2 separate regions of the Homo sapiens genome follow, and region 1 is linked to region 2. Evidence: promoter capture Hi-C in 16 types of primary human blood cells and fetal thymus (Javierre and others, 2016). All regions are on one chromosome and are shown on one strand. Each heading gives the region's core, a stretch centred on a gene start or on the middle of the fragment in contact. The rest is flanking DNA. Distances are from core to core; before and after follow the strand shown.

Region 1 (4,318 bases), core at 1,232-3,731, 2.7 Mb after region 2:
ATATTCAGGAAAAAAATGGAGGGTTGCATTTGTACTAAACACATACAAACTTTTAAAATATTGTCATTATTCCCTAAGCAATACAATATGATTATTTTATATAGCCTTGACATATTAGCTATTATAAGTAATCTAAATATGATTTAAAGTATATAGGAAGATATGTACAGCTTATAAGCCAGGAGTGTCCAAACTTTGGATTTCCCTGGGCCATATTGGAAGAATAATTGTCTTGGGCCACACATAAAATATATTAACACTAATGATAACTGATGAGCTAAAAAATTTCAAAAAATTGCAAACAAATTCAATGTTTTAAGAAAGTGTATGAATTTTTGTTGGGATGCATTCAAAGCCATCCTGGGCCACCGGTTGGACAAGCTTCTTATGAGCAAACACTCCACTATTTTATGTTAGGGAATTGAGTATCAGTGGATTTTGGTATTCACAGGTGGTCCTGGAGCCAGTCACCCAAGGTTGCTGAAGAATGATTGTATTTATTAAATACGCAAGGGAAAAAACATTATAGTAAAGAAACCTGGCAAACACTACCTTAAGTGATTAGAGTGAATATCATTATTGATGAGTCACATTGAAATCATGCACTCCCTGATAAGATGCAAGAAGAATGTGGAGTCATTTGTGTGATATTCCTGCCAAACAGGCATAGCCTGAATTCAATCATGAAATAAACATCAGATAAACTTGAAGGACTTTCTTTAAAAAATAACTCTCCTACACTCTTCAAAAAGTTTCAAGGAAAGACTAGGAACTATTCCAAATTGAAAGAGCCTAAAATAATATGAAACTGTGGGCCAAATGTGACTCTTATTTATTCCTTTGGCTATAAAAGACATTGCTGGGATATTTGGCAAAACTTGAATGGCTGTTAGTAATGTAGTAATGTTAATTTCTTGATTTTGATGGTAATTCTATGATTATTCTATAAACAAAGAGAATGTTCATGGAGAATATAGGCTGAAATATTCAACATATTCCAGGAAACATCACATGTAGCTTATTCTCAGATGGTTCAAAAAATGTGGTTTTCTTTTCATTTTTCTCTTAAATTGCACTTATTTCAAAAAATAAAGATTCATAAATCCTATCACTTTTGTAGAAATAAATCACATGGAACTTGAAAGAAAACAATGTTTAAGCAGTAAATTTGTGATATGTGGGTATTTAAGAACAGGGTACTTGTTATGAAGATGCATGGGGTGGTGGGTGAACAAATGACAAAAAATAGATTGTTTAAGAAGTCTGTATTAGTCTGTTTTCACACTGCTATAAGTGACCTGAGACTGGGTCATTTATAAAGAAAAGAGATTTAATTGACTCACAGTTCCGCTTGGCTAGAGGGACTTCCTGAAACTTACAATCATGGCAGAAGGCAAAGGAGAAGCAAGCATCTTCTTACATGGTGGCAGGAGAGAGAGAAAGCAAGCGGGGAAGTGCCACACTTTGAAACTATCAGATCTCATGAGAAGTCATTCACTGTCATGATAACAGCACGAGGCAAATCCACCCCCATCATCTAATCACCTCCCACCAGGTCCCTCCCTCAACATGTGGGGGATTACAATTTGAGATGAGATTTGGGTGGAAACATAGAACCAAACCACATCAAAGTCTCTTCACAAAATAGCAACAGGAAATTGTGTGGAGCCTGGGTATAGGGAGGAAGTTATTGAATCATGCCTTTCATCCTGTTTTAAGCTGATAGAGGGAGATGTCATTTAATTGCCTTGGGTTTATTTACACAAGAAAATGAAAGTGCCAATAGTAACCTGTGAAAAATGCCAGAACTCAGGGTTGGTTATATATGACTAGTTGAGGGGTTTTCTAATCACAAATGTCTAAGTCTAATGCTCAAACACAGCAAGATAATTTATCAGTTATTCAGAAAGAGTATGGAAAAATAGTGGTGAAATAGACAAACAGCCCATTTTTATTTTTACATCTAATTGTTCTCCCTTCATGGAGTTTACCTTAAAATAATTTGTTAATAATGCTGAGAGCTGTTATTTCTATCTGTAAACAGCTTACTAGGGATAGGTCATTTCTATGAAGTTTGGAAAGGAAGGGCTGGGCATAGTGACTCATACCTGCAGTCCCGGTACTTTGGGAGGCCGAGGTCGGGAGATCTCTTGAGCTCAGAAGTTCAAGACCATCCTGGGAAACATGGCAAAACCCCGTCTCTACTAAAACTACAAAAATTAGCTGGGTGTGGTGGTGCACACCTGTATTCCCAGCTACTCAAGAACACTGAGGTGGGAGAATCGTTTGAACCCAGGAGGTAGAGGCTGCAGTGAGCTGAGATTGTACCACTGCACCCCAGCCTGGGTGACAGTCTGACTTCATCTCATAAAAGAAAAAAAAATTAAAAAAAAAGAAAGAAAGAAAAAATTGGGAAGGAGAAAGATGAGGTGGGGGTTAGGCCAAGGTGGTGAACTAGAAGCAGTTATGTATGCCACTCTCACAGAGAAGAAACAAGAGGGCTGGCGAACATTGGCCCTGCAAGGCCAGTCATCTGAGAAACTACATCGGGTTCCATCAAGGCAGCAGGGGAACAGAGAGAGCAGAGAGGAGTGAGGCTGGAAACCAGCTTGTATTAGTTTAGTGCAGAGCTGGGAGTACCTCTCAAAAGCAGGAAAGGGTGAGTGAATGAACTCTCCACAGGGACCTGTCTGGGAACCTCTCCTGGGAATGAGAGATTCCCCCTATCCCTCCTGCAGCCTTCCTTCTAGACTGGGGTAGAGAGCCATCTGGACATTCTGTGAGGGCAACTCTTAAGTTCAAGGAAATCTCTACAAGCCTTGGGCCCCAGAGTAGACCAGCACTGGCAACACAGCCTCACTAGAGTCTGTAATCATAGTGCCTGGGAACAACAGGATTGCTCCACCCCATTCCCTTACCAGAAAAGATTGGTGCCAGCTTCCAGCCCAGCTGTCCTACTTTGGCCTGAACTCAGCTGGCAGCCACAGGCTCCTGTTGTCCCAGGAAGTTCCTGGGTGGCAAGGTAGGAGACCCCTACACACTGGTAGCCAGGCAGGCAAAACTTGCCAGAACTTCTAGCCTAATGGTACCGCTGCTGTGTGGATTCTGCCAGATGATACATTTATCCGGTGGCTCTGAGAAATGCTCAGATAGCAGGGTGGGTGAGGCCACCTACCCCTGCCACTGGTAGCCAAGCAGACAATGTCTGCTAGAGCTCCCAGCCTAGTGGTCCCAATTTTATGTGAACTCAACAGGTGGGTGCAGCCTCCTGTGTCCCAAGAAGCAACTGGACAGCAGGGAGGGCAACCCCCAACCACATCTGCCGCTGATAGCCAGGCAAACTACAACTGCTAGAGCTTCCATAATTCTACTTCTGCCTGAACTCTGGGCAGGCACAACCCTGTATTCCCCGGAAAGCACTTGGACAACAGATTAGCACTGACCTGGCAAGGATATAGCCCATCTACCAACTGTGGCCCCTAACCTGAGGGAGCCCTGTGGACCAGAACAACCCCCCTCCCACCAAAACAAACAAATAAACAAACAAAAAAACAGAAAACAGTGGCCTGGAGATAGGAATCAGAGGACTCCTCCAAGACCCAGGAACAGACTAGAATTGAAGCCAGTTGACTGAACTCACCTTATATCATAATCAAACCCCCAAGGGCACGAAAGAAGATAAAAGCAAGATCCATTCATAGGAAAGCAATTTCAAAGACTGAAGGAACATCAGCCCTACACAGATAAGAGTAAACCAGCACAAGAGCTCTGGCAACTCAAAAAGCCAGAGTGTCTTCTGACCTCCAAATTATTGTACTACTTCACCAAAAATGGTTCTTACTCAGACTGAAATGGCTGAAATGTCAGAAATAGAATTCAGAATATGAATAGGAATAAAGATCGACATTCTGGAGAAAATCAAAACCCAATGCAAGGAATCTAAGGAATACCATAAAACAATGCAAAAGATAAAAGATGAAATAGTCATTTTAAGAACAAAAAGAAACTGATCTGACAGAGCTGAAAAACTCACTTAAGAATTGCATAATACAACTGCAGTATTAACAACAGAACCACCAATCTGAGGAAAGAATCTTAGAGCTTAAAGATTGGTTCTCTGAAATGACTCAGACAAAAATAAAAAATAAGGAATGAATAAATCCACCAAGAAATATGAGATTAGGTGAAGAGACCAAATCTATGACACACTGGCATCCCTGAAAGAGAGAGAGAGAAAGCAAACAACTTGCAAAACATATTTGAGGATATCATCTCCCAAAATTTCCCCAACCTTGCTAGAGAAGCCAACACTCAAATC
Region 2 (4,125 bases), core at 97-2,596:
CCTCTGTATTTCAGAAAGTCCTCTACCCTGAAAATGTGATGAGAGTGCCACATGACAACTTACCTTCTTATGCACTCCATTGGTCGGCCATTCAGCCAATATCAGATTTGGGGGTCTAGTCAGGTCTTGCTTCCCAAGCTTTTCAGAAACCCTGATGAAACAGGCATAGGGTCTAAACTTAGGGAGGGCAAAACTTACAGCCAACTCCAAATGCAGCAAGCAAAATAAATAAGCGCCTAAACCATTGAATCTTTATGTGAAAGCCATAGCCCTTTAGAGCTAACATTTGCAATCTTCTTAATTATAGGAAGTAGATACAGAGGGGTAAAGTTATTTAACTGGGAATCTACCCCACACCTCAAAGGTTAGGTCACTAATTGCGGGTGCACAGGAGAGATGGTAGGATGGGAGGGACAGGAGAAGACATGTTTAGATATATCTGGTAAATAATTTGGTGGTGGTGGGAGCCTTCATTCCCACCCCCAACCCGCCCCCCCCTTTTAAAAAAATCCTATTTCCGAGACAAAAGCAATATAACATAACTTTGTATTTCCTGAAACTTCCAGTTTCTAAGAACTGTCCAAGAGTACTTACACGCACATTCCCGAGACCGTTGGAGTTGTTCGATAGGTCTAGGGAGGGATCTGGGGATACGTGTTTTACAAGCACCATGAGCGATTCTTCAAAGTTGGGTGTTTGAATCAAAAGAGCAGAATTCATGATACCGTTTTGTGCACTCCTTGAGCTAAAAGGTAGTATCCCACCCTCTCCATAAACAGACACCTAAGTTATAAAACTTATGCGCTCGATATGCAAAAATAGCTCGTTTTATACAGAAACGATCCTTTCCTTCTTTTCCTTATATATCTTTTAACTGTCATCACTCCTAACCTAGACCTAGAGTGGCTTTTTCCGGTCCTAGCTCTGCCGGACACACGCTCTGCCCAGAGACCCGATCCACCCAAGGCCAGGCGGTCTGGGGTCACGTCTGTGTCCAGCGTCCGGCGGGCGCTGCCGTGCCGCTCTCCCATTGGCTGGAAGTTCCCTCGCGGGCCGGCGCGGCTCCTGCTCGCCACGCCAGCCCATCGGGCTACGGACCGCCCAGGGGGGCGGGGCTTGGGAGTTGGGGCGGGGCCCGGGTGAGGGGCGGGGCCTCGGGGCGTCGCGGACGTCCTGGCGGCCTACTGCGTGGGAGGGAGTCCTGGGCCGCGCCCCGCGAGGCCGGGCCCAGGCCGGGCCAATCCCGGGCCACTGGGCGGGCGACCGTGGGGCCTGGCCGGCCCGCCGGAGAGCCTGGGGGTTGGGGACGATGGGCTAGTTCCTGGTGCGTCACGGGGGAGTTCCTTAAAGGGGAAGCGAGCCGGGCTACGGGGCGAGCGCGGGGTGCGGTGGTCGGCGGGGAGGCCCCCGCGCTTTAAAATAATGCCCGCGGCGCCCGCGCGACCATGCAATGGCGAGCGCTCGTCCTGGGGCTGGTGCTCCTCCGGCTTGGCCTCCATGGAGTATTGTGGCTCGTCTTCGGGCTGGGGCCCAGCATGGGCTTCTACCAGCGCTTTCCGCTCAGCTTCGGCTTCCAGCGTCTGAGGAGCCCCGACGGCCCCGCGTCGCCCACCTCGGGGCCCGTGGGCCGGCCTGGGGGGGTATCCGGGCCGTCGTGGCTGCAGCCGCCGGGGACCGGGGCAGCGCAGAGCCCGCGCAAGGCTCCGCGGCGTCCTGGGCCGGGGATGTGCGGCCCAGCCAACTGGGGCTACGTGCTGGGCGGCCGGGGCCGCGGCCCGGACGAGTACGAGAAGCGCTACAGCGGCGCCTTCCCTCCGCAGCTGCGTGCCCAGATGCGCGACCTGGCACGGGGCATGTTCGTCTTTGGCTACGACAACTACATGGCTCACGCCTTCCCCCAGGACGAGCTCAACCCCATCCACTGCCGCGGCCGTGGGCCCGACCGCGGGGACCCGTGAGTAGCCCCCGCCGCCCGGGGCCGCGCGCCCACGCGCTTCCTTCCGCCCTCCGCGCCGGGGTGCAGCCCTCTGTCCTCCGGGGCCCCCGAGGGCGCCAGGGCCGTTAGGGTCCCGGGCAGCGCTCCCGCGCCCTGTCCCGTGTGAGTCCCTGTGAAGACCCCCGAGCTTGAGGGTGCGGGGTGGGCCGGTGGCCTTCCTCTCCTGATTCTCCCGGAATCTCCAAACTTCAGAACTGCTGTCCAGCTCAGTGTCTTACGCGTGAGGATACTGAGGTCCAGGACCAGAAGGGACAGTGGCAGTGCCAAGGGCTGGCTTGGAGGGCTTTCCACTTCCATCCGACCCCTTCCTCCGGATGAGCATAAACTCTAAATGAAATCTCCATCATGCCCCCCGTGTAAACGCAGCCTCAGAACAAGCCTTTACCTCGCACCCCCACCTCTATCACATTGCCACACCCACGTCTTTTCTATGTAAAAAGCCTATAGTTGACTTCTCCAAAGCCGTCCATTGAGTTTGAGGCAGAACGGGGTTACAGCCTCTCCTTCACAGGGGCTGCTTCTTAGGCTGAGGATAGTTAGGTGGTGGGGAGGGAAGCTATGTGGCCCACTTTTGGGGTCCAGATACTTGAGGTGAAATTCACTGGATGCCAGATTGACTGTCAACGTCATCGCCCTGTACGATCTGTCTATAAATCCCCCGCCTCTGGTGGCGTGGTTGTCCGGGAAGGTCAGGCAGTCTTCCCTGTTCACCAGCCTTGTTTGCAAAGGCTGAGCTCCAAGGGTCACCACTGTTGACATCAAAGTCCAAGAGGGCAGTACACCCAGCTAAGGACCTCTTACCTGTAGGGAAGGAATGTGCATTGCCATAGACCCTGTTAGTCCAAATAGTTGACTCCCCTCCCCTGGATGGGAGTGGAGGAGTTGGTTTGCTCAGTGTCTTGGCACCGTCTGGGGCAAGCATTTTCCTTCACCTGGAGGAAAGCAGTGGAGTCCAGTCCTTAGGTTCTGATAAGGAAGCCTATAGACTAAACGGAGTTGGGTTTTTAAAATGGTGTGGTTATTTACACATTTATGTTTTAAATTGCAGTTTGAGAGCATGATTTCTACCGAAGCAAGGGGACATCCCAAGCTAAATTCAAAGGACTGAGCCTTTTCAAAATTCTAGGAAACCGATGAGTTTTTCTTGCTTAACCATAGCGTTTATACGTATAAGTGTATTTTCTATCTCAATTTTTTTGAGAAAAAATATTAAATTTTGAAAAAAAAGTATTTGGCCTTTCCAGATTTTTTGTTTGTTTTTTGAGACGGAGTCTCGCTTTGTCGCCCAGGCTGGAGTGCAGTGGCGCGATCTCCGCTCACTGCAACCTCCGCCTCTGTGGTTAAAGTGATTCTCCTGCCTCAGCCTCCCGAGTAGCTGGGACTACAGACTCGTGCCACCACGCCCGGCTAATTTTTTGTATTTTTAGTAGAGACGGGGTTTCACCGTATTAGCCAGGATGGTCTCATCTCCTGACCTCGTGATCCACCCGCCTGGGCCTCCCAAAGTGCTGGGATTACAGGCGTGAGCCACCGCTCCCGGCCATGGTCTTTCCAGATTTTAAGAAATGAATGAATTATTTGGCTCACTTAACTAGAGGGGACTTTATACCTATAAATGTATTTTCTTTCTTAGTTTTTTTTTTGGGGGGGGGGATAAACTTCATTTAATTGTGGTCTTTTTTTTGTTGTCAGCCTACATCATGCTTTGATGTTTTTTCTTTTTAAATCAACATCATTAAAGTTTGAAAAATATCATAAAATCCCACCAGCTATTTTAAATTTATTTTTGCCACTAGTTCCTACCCATATGTCTATGCATGTTTTACATAGTTGCAATCATAGTATGTGTACATATTTTGGATCTTAATTTGTGCTTTTCCACTAGTGCTCTTGGTATTACAAGAAGGGAGAGAGCACTTCCAATAAGTGCCTTTATTCCTGCTCACAGACTGTTTCTCAGATTACCTTTTATCAGGTGGACTGAAGTTGAAAACAGTTTAACGGGGAATTGTGATAACACTTTCATTTGAGAATATGACGGTTTGGAGAGTGAGTTGATGACATTTTAATGTTTTTCTTAATGAACCTTAAAAGCGCTTCTGGAGAACCTTAAGAATCCCTTCCCAGCA

Evidence for each region. The method cuts DNA at HindIII sites, captures the fragments that hold promoters and counts their contacts. A CHiCAGO score of 5 or more calls a contact.
Region 1: a fragment that was not itself captured here is called in contact with the fragment with the promoter of EDEM1 in region 2 in 1 of 17 cell types (non-activated CD4 T cells); the score reaches 5.4 in non-activated CD4 T cells.

The regions. Positions count from the first base shown.
Region 1 is chr3:7,875,415-7,879,732 of GRCh38, forward strand. No RefSeq gene overlaps it. Among named protein-coding and RNA genes, the nearest start is that of GRM7-AS1, 340 kb to the left of the region's middle. The HindIII fragment of the contact is 4,204 bases long and covers 380-4,318 here.
Region 2 is chr3:5,186,361-5,190,485 of GRCh38, forward strand. It overlaps EDEM1 (ER degradation enhancing alpha-mannosidase like protein 1), which reads left to right and starts at 1,347. Exons shown (of 12, transcript NM_014674.3): 1 at 1,347-1,954. The coding sequence starts at 1,446. RefSeq lists silencers at 976-1,385, 1,626-1,795, 1,846-2,135, 3,333-3,452 and an enhancer at 2,286-2,335. The HindIII fragment of the contact is 7,598 bases long and covers 137-4,125 here.